Regions from separate parts of the Homo sapiens genome. Here region 1 is linked to region 2. Evidence: promoter capture Hi-C in 16 types of primary human blood cells and fetal thymus (Javierre and others, 2016). All regions are on one chromosome and are shown on one strand. Each heading gives the region's core, a stretch centred on a gene start or on the middle of the fragment in contact. The rest is flanking DNA. Distances are from core to core; before and after follow the strand shown. Region 1 has its middle 24 kb from the start of BEND3. Region 2 holds the start of SCML4 (Scm polycomb group protein like 4).

Evidence for each region. Contacts are between HindIII fragments. The CHiCAGO score rates a contact against its expected background, and 5 or more counts as called.
Region 1: a contact is called between a fragment that was not itself captured here and the fragment with the promoter of SCML4 in region 2, in 1 of 17 cell types (erythroblasts). The highest score is 5.1, in erythroblasts.

What each region holds. Positions count from the first base shown.
Region 1 is chr6:107,138,513-107,141,212 of GRCh38, forward strand. No RefSeq gene overlaps it. Among named protein-coding and RNA genes, the nearest start is that of BEND3, 24 kb to the left of the region's middle. The HindIII fragment of the contact is 1,871 bases long and covers 478-2,348 here.
Region 2 is chr6:107,822,960-107,826,069 of GRCh38, forward strand. It overlaps SCML4 (Scm polycomb group protein like 4), which reads right to left and starts at 1,354. Exons shown (of 8, transcript NM_198081.5): 1 at 1,167-1,354. The HindIII fragment of the contact is 8,468 bases long and covers 1-3,110 here.

The sequences.
Region 1 (2,700 bases), core at 163-2,662, 680 kb before region 2:
CGCCTCGGCCTCCCAAAGTGCTGGGATTACAGGCGTGAGCTACCGTGCCAGGTCCTGTCCTTTATGTTCAAAGAAGTCTCTAGACCTATTTTATAACCTGTATTCTTCTGATTAGAGTTTGTAAACCAGTGTTCCTTTACTATTACTCTATTTTACTTGCTTGCTTCATTGTTTTTTTTTTTTTTTTTTTTGAGATGGAGTCTCGCTCTGTCGCCCAGGCTGGAGTGCAGTGGCGCGATCTCGGCTCACTGCAAGCTTTGCCTCCCGGGTTCATGCCATTCTTCTGCCTCAGCCTCCCGAGTAGCTGGGACTACAGGCGCCCGCCACAACGCCTGGCTAATTTTTTGTATTTTTTTTAGTAGAGATGGGGTTTCACCATATTAGCCAGGATGGTCTCTATCTCCTGACCTTGTGATCCGCCCGCCTCGGCCTCCCAAAGTGCTGGGATTACAGGCATGATCCACCGCGCCCAGCCTAAGCTTCATTGTTATAAAAACACATTTCCTTTAACAGCATTTATCGAATGGCACCCTCTGTGGTAGGTACAGTGATTGGTGCCTTCAGGCAATTAGCAGCTATTCTTTACTAGTAAGCACGACTATCCAATTCCACAAGAAAGGAAGAAGAAACCTGGAGAATTTGTCTCATCACACCTGATAGATAAGCTAGGATTTGAGGTTTTTTTGTTTTGTTTTGTTTGTTTTTTTTGAGACAGTCTCGCTCTGTTGCCCAGACTAGAGTGCAGTGGCTGGATCTCTGCTCACTGCAACCTCCGTCTCCCAGGCTCAAGTGATTCTCGTGCTTCAGCCTCCTGAGTAGGTGGAACTACAGGCGTACGCCACCACGCCCAGCTAATTTTTGTATTTTTTGTAGAGATGGGGTTTCACCATATTGGCCAGGCTGGCCTCGAACTCCTGGCCTCAAGCGATCCACCTGCCTCGACCTCCCAAAGTGCTGGGATTACAAGCATAAGCCACCACGCCCAGCCAAGAAGCTAGGATTTGAACCCAGATCTGTTTATTCCATTGGTTATCTTCCACTATTTTCAAAGAGAATCTGATCCCAAGAAGCCCACAGTATAGTGGGAAAGACACAAATAATCTCATTCTATGGTTTACCTTTGTATCCAAGGCAGTGCTATGCACATAGTAACACTTAATAAATGTCAATGAAAAGAAGGCATTAACTTATCCTGGTTTCTTACTTCTTTTTCTTTTTTTTTTTTAGATGGAGTCTCACTCTGTCACGCAGGCTGGAGGGCAGTGGCGTGATCTCGGCTTACTACAACCTCCGCCTACAGCCTCCGGAGTAGTTGGGACTACAGGCACGTGCCACCATGCCCAGCTGACTTTTGTTTGTATTTTTAGTAGAGACAGGGTTTCACTGTGTTAGCCAGGATGGTCTCGATCTCCTGACATCATGATCTGCCCGCCTCGGCCTCCCAAAGTGCGGGGATTACAGATGTGAGCCACCGCGCCCGGCCTCTTATTTTTCCGTTGATGGTTTCTAAGTCAGGGGAATCACAATCTGGTAAAATAAAGAAGCAAAGAGGATTGTTAAGGAAACACAAATTTGAGCCGGGCGCGATGGCTCACGCCTGTAATCCCAGCACTTTGGGAGACCAAGGCGGGCGGATCACCTGAGGTCAGGAGTTCGAGAGCAGCCTGACCAACACGGCGAAACCCCGACTCTACTAAAAATATAAAATTAGCTGGGCGTGGTGACGCATGCCTATAATCCCAGCTACTTGGGAGGCTGAGGCAGGAGAATCGCTTGAACCTGGGAGGCGGAGGTTGCGGTGAGCTGAGATTGCACTCCAGCCTGGGCAACAATAGCAAAAACTCCATCTCAAAAACAAACAAACAAACAAACAAACAAACAAACAAAAAAACAAAAAAAGGAAACACAAATTTGGAGACAAAATAGAAAGAGCCTATGTCACACAGTGATTTTCTTCCTCTGCACAGTTACTATAACAGGTCATCAGTCACTTTGCAAAAACGTCCATTATAAATCAGGGCTACTTCCATTTTGTACTATTTATCTTTCTAATGTATTTAATAAAAACCCATTAAGGAATATAAAAATATAATTTTAGTATTATTTTCTCCTTCCTGTAATCAGTTTTATAACGCTGATGTTGAACATAACGGAGCAAGCAACTATATGTAACTGTAGAAATTATTGCTAGGAATTTGCATATGAAATACACACCTTTTACTGCCTTTAGTTGGCTTTGTTAACTAGGTTATAAATAGTACAGTTGACATACCAGAAACGGAAAGCACTTTTTGATGAGCACATGCTATGAATGGAAGAAGTGTTCAAACACAGTGTTTAATTTGGAAAGCTTTCATTAGAACTAGCTAAAGGGGAAAGTGGTTTATTTCCTAATCATAGCCTTGCTTAATAATCCAATCATATAGAAAGACTTATGGAAAAGCTTTCTAAAAACAGATATTTATGCTACAATTTGGGTAAACAAGTGATACATCTAGTCTATAAACATATGTTGATGGTGTTGGTGGTCACTTTTAAGAAAATTGAACTTTGGGAGGTCGAGGCGGGTGGATCACGAGGTCAGCAGACCAAGACCATCCTGGCCAACATAGTGAAACCCGTCTCTACTAAAATTACAAAACTTAACTGGGTGTTGGGGCATGCGCCTGTAGTCCCAGCTACTAGGGAGGCTGTGGCAGG
Region 2 (3,110 bases), core at 104-2,603:
AGAATTCCTTTGTAGTTATTTTTATGCTTTCACTCCAGATATTCTATTTTGCTTTAAAAAAAAAAAAGTGGAGAAAAAAAGCAGCTATATCCCTCATTCTTCAAAAATGGTTCCTCTGGTTGAAAAGAAAGAAAAACAGCATATAACAAATACCCTGATTCTGAAGTGCCTGGATTACTTTCTCAAGTACTGTAGTGTCTGAGATCAGTAAAAAACCACTTTCTCAGAAAGCCACTGATTGTCTAACCCTCATGAGTACCGTCATGGAATCTAGAGACAACACGAGGAGACACCTCTCGTTCACGATCACAGATAGTGGAAAGAACTTTGACTCAAGCACCTCAACTCAGCAAAACAGCTCAGCAGCCTGCACCCTGGCCTCATCCACCGCTCCTGTCCAGCCAGCAATCAACCTGGAGAGGACCCCTCATGCTTTGGGAGGAGCACGTGGAAGCTGGTTCAAGTCACAGTGCTCCACCTGGGAAGGAGGTGATTTTGAGCTTGGGAAAACTGCCGCTAATACTCCATAGTCACCAGTTTTTTTCCCAAAAAACGAATTAAAACCAGAAACTAGCAGTAAATATTATTCTTATTTATGCCTCATAAATTAGGAAAAACCAGCACAAAGACATGTGAAATATTCTACCTGGGATATTTGAAATAAAATTAAATGGGAAAAAAAACACTTTTACATGTTCATAACATACCAATTTTAATAACCAAATTTTAGGTAAATATTTTTATCCCAAGACATAGTACAATTTTTTTAAAATTAAAAAGCAAAACAAAGCAAAATTATCGTGAAGGGAAAAAATAACTAACCGGTTACTTGAGTTCACATTTGGAAAAAAATAACTTTCTAGGTATTTAAATGCAGAGTTAAAGAGTAATGAACATGTATATAGCCCAAATTTATAAACTATATAATTCAATGTTACATTTTCCCCTCTGAGATCTGGTTAATAAATTAAATGCTGTACTTTGCATATGAGGAACTAAAGTTTACCTACTGGACTCAGTGGTTTTAGTGCAGGACACTCTTGTGCGTTGCCATAGAGGTAGGCATGCAACCCAGAAAAAACTGAAACAGGTAACCTGTCATGCTGACAGTTACAAGAGAAAGATCCCGTGTCAACGGCACGCCTCCAATTGTGCATCTCCCTTACCTACAGCTTGTTCACCAGAGCCCTGAGCAGGTTGTTTACCAGGTCGGGAGTGTTGACTCAGAAGACAGATGACTTTCAGCACATGCAAACCGAGTATTGCAAAAGCTATCTTCCACCCGTGTTAGTAGCTCACAGTTAGTCTCCAGCAGCCCTGCGCTCCAGCTGCAAACATCTCATTAGACTAATGCATTCAGCACAGGCAGAAAACTCGATTTACCATAGCTACAGCAATGAATTTCCATTACGATGACAGCTTCAACCACATCATGTCCGGAAAACCAGCCAACCACTGGCTTTTAAAGAACACACACATTTTACATGCAGAAAACGAGGCCTCTGTGTGTGTGTGTGTGTGTGTGTGTGTGTGTGTGTGTGTGTGTGTGTGTGTGTGTTTTGTGTTTCCTTCCTCTTAGCAGCCTAAGAGAAATGTGCAGTGTAGCTTTTTGTCGACATGAGCTGCAAGGTAATGACACTTCTGCTTCTTTGGTAGTTACATCCTTGTAATAACCTGAATTATGTCACAATGGTTAGAATGGGTGTTTCCAACATTTCAGTTTTCATTACCCCTCCTCTGTTGCCATAGAAACCAGACTGTAACATCGTCTCTTTGTCCCAATCCTGCAGCAGTGTGGGCCAACACCAGGCTTATAAGACACTGGTGATCTGACAGAGTGAATGTTTGACTTTGGACAAATAAAACAAAAAGAAATATTACAATAGCATCATTGTTCAGGAGACCCTGTGTGATTCCCAGAGCAGTGTGCCTATCCAGGTGTGTGCACACACCATGGTTGTACATATTAAATCAGCGGCTGCCCACAACATATGTGTACAGTTCATTAAAGCCGGCCCTGACTTTGGCTCCAGGCCTGTATGTGTGTGTGTGTAAGCATCTCTACCCACCTCAACGTGGTGGGACCTGCACAGGATAGAAACAGGGCAAGAGTGACTATTCATTCCCATGCCCCATTGCATTTTCTGCAGCAAATCAATATATATCGGCGAAGGGATCTTTTCTTTTCCTTTCTTTTTGTAAAGTGGAGCAGGGCTCCCCATTGCCCATTTCATCCACTCTGGGATATTGGCATATTCACAGGTATTTCCTACAAGATGAAACATCCATTCTACAAACATGTGGCTTACTCCTAGGGATGAGCAGCAAACAAATTTAGCCGGGACTAAATATCAACCAGGGCTAACGAAGGCTTAGGCCACAACCTGGCCAGTTACTGAGAGTGAAAAAAACTGCAATGGACAACTTGAGGTTTCTCTAAATATATGTGTAGAGTCACATTAGAAGTACATAAGAAATCTCTCCTCTGAAATTTATTATGAAAATATAAAAAATTGTTTTAAGTCAAAGCCTTGTAATTAATTGAGCAAGAAGAAATTCACTACTTTAGTTCATTTAATCATCAAATTTTGTTGTTTTGTATGGGAAAAGGCAGGTTTGGTAGTTTGCATTTTCATTTCATATAAGTTGATTTCACTAAAGAAGGAGGAAGAGGAGAAGAAAAGAAAATAAGATGGATGGGCCAGGTGCAGTGGCTCATGCCTGTAATCCCAGCACTTTGGGAGGCCAAGGCGGGTGGATCACGAGGTCAGGAGATCGAGACCATCCTGTGAATGGTGAAACCCCGTCTCTACTAAAAATACAAAAAATTAGCTGGGCGTGGTGGCGGGCGCCTGTAGTCCCAGCTACTTGGGAGGCTGAGGAGGGAGAATGGCGTGAACCCGGGAGGCGGAGCTCACAGTGAGCCGATACCGTGCCACTGCACTCCAGCCTGGGTGACAGAGCGAGACTCCATCTCAAAAAAAAAAAAAAAAAAAAGAAAATAAGATGGATGGGCTAGGTGTGGTGGCTCATGCCTGTAATCCCAGCATTTTGGGACTCCTGGACTTGAGGTTAGGAGTTCGAGACCAGACTGGCCAACATGGTGAAAC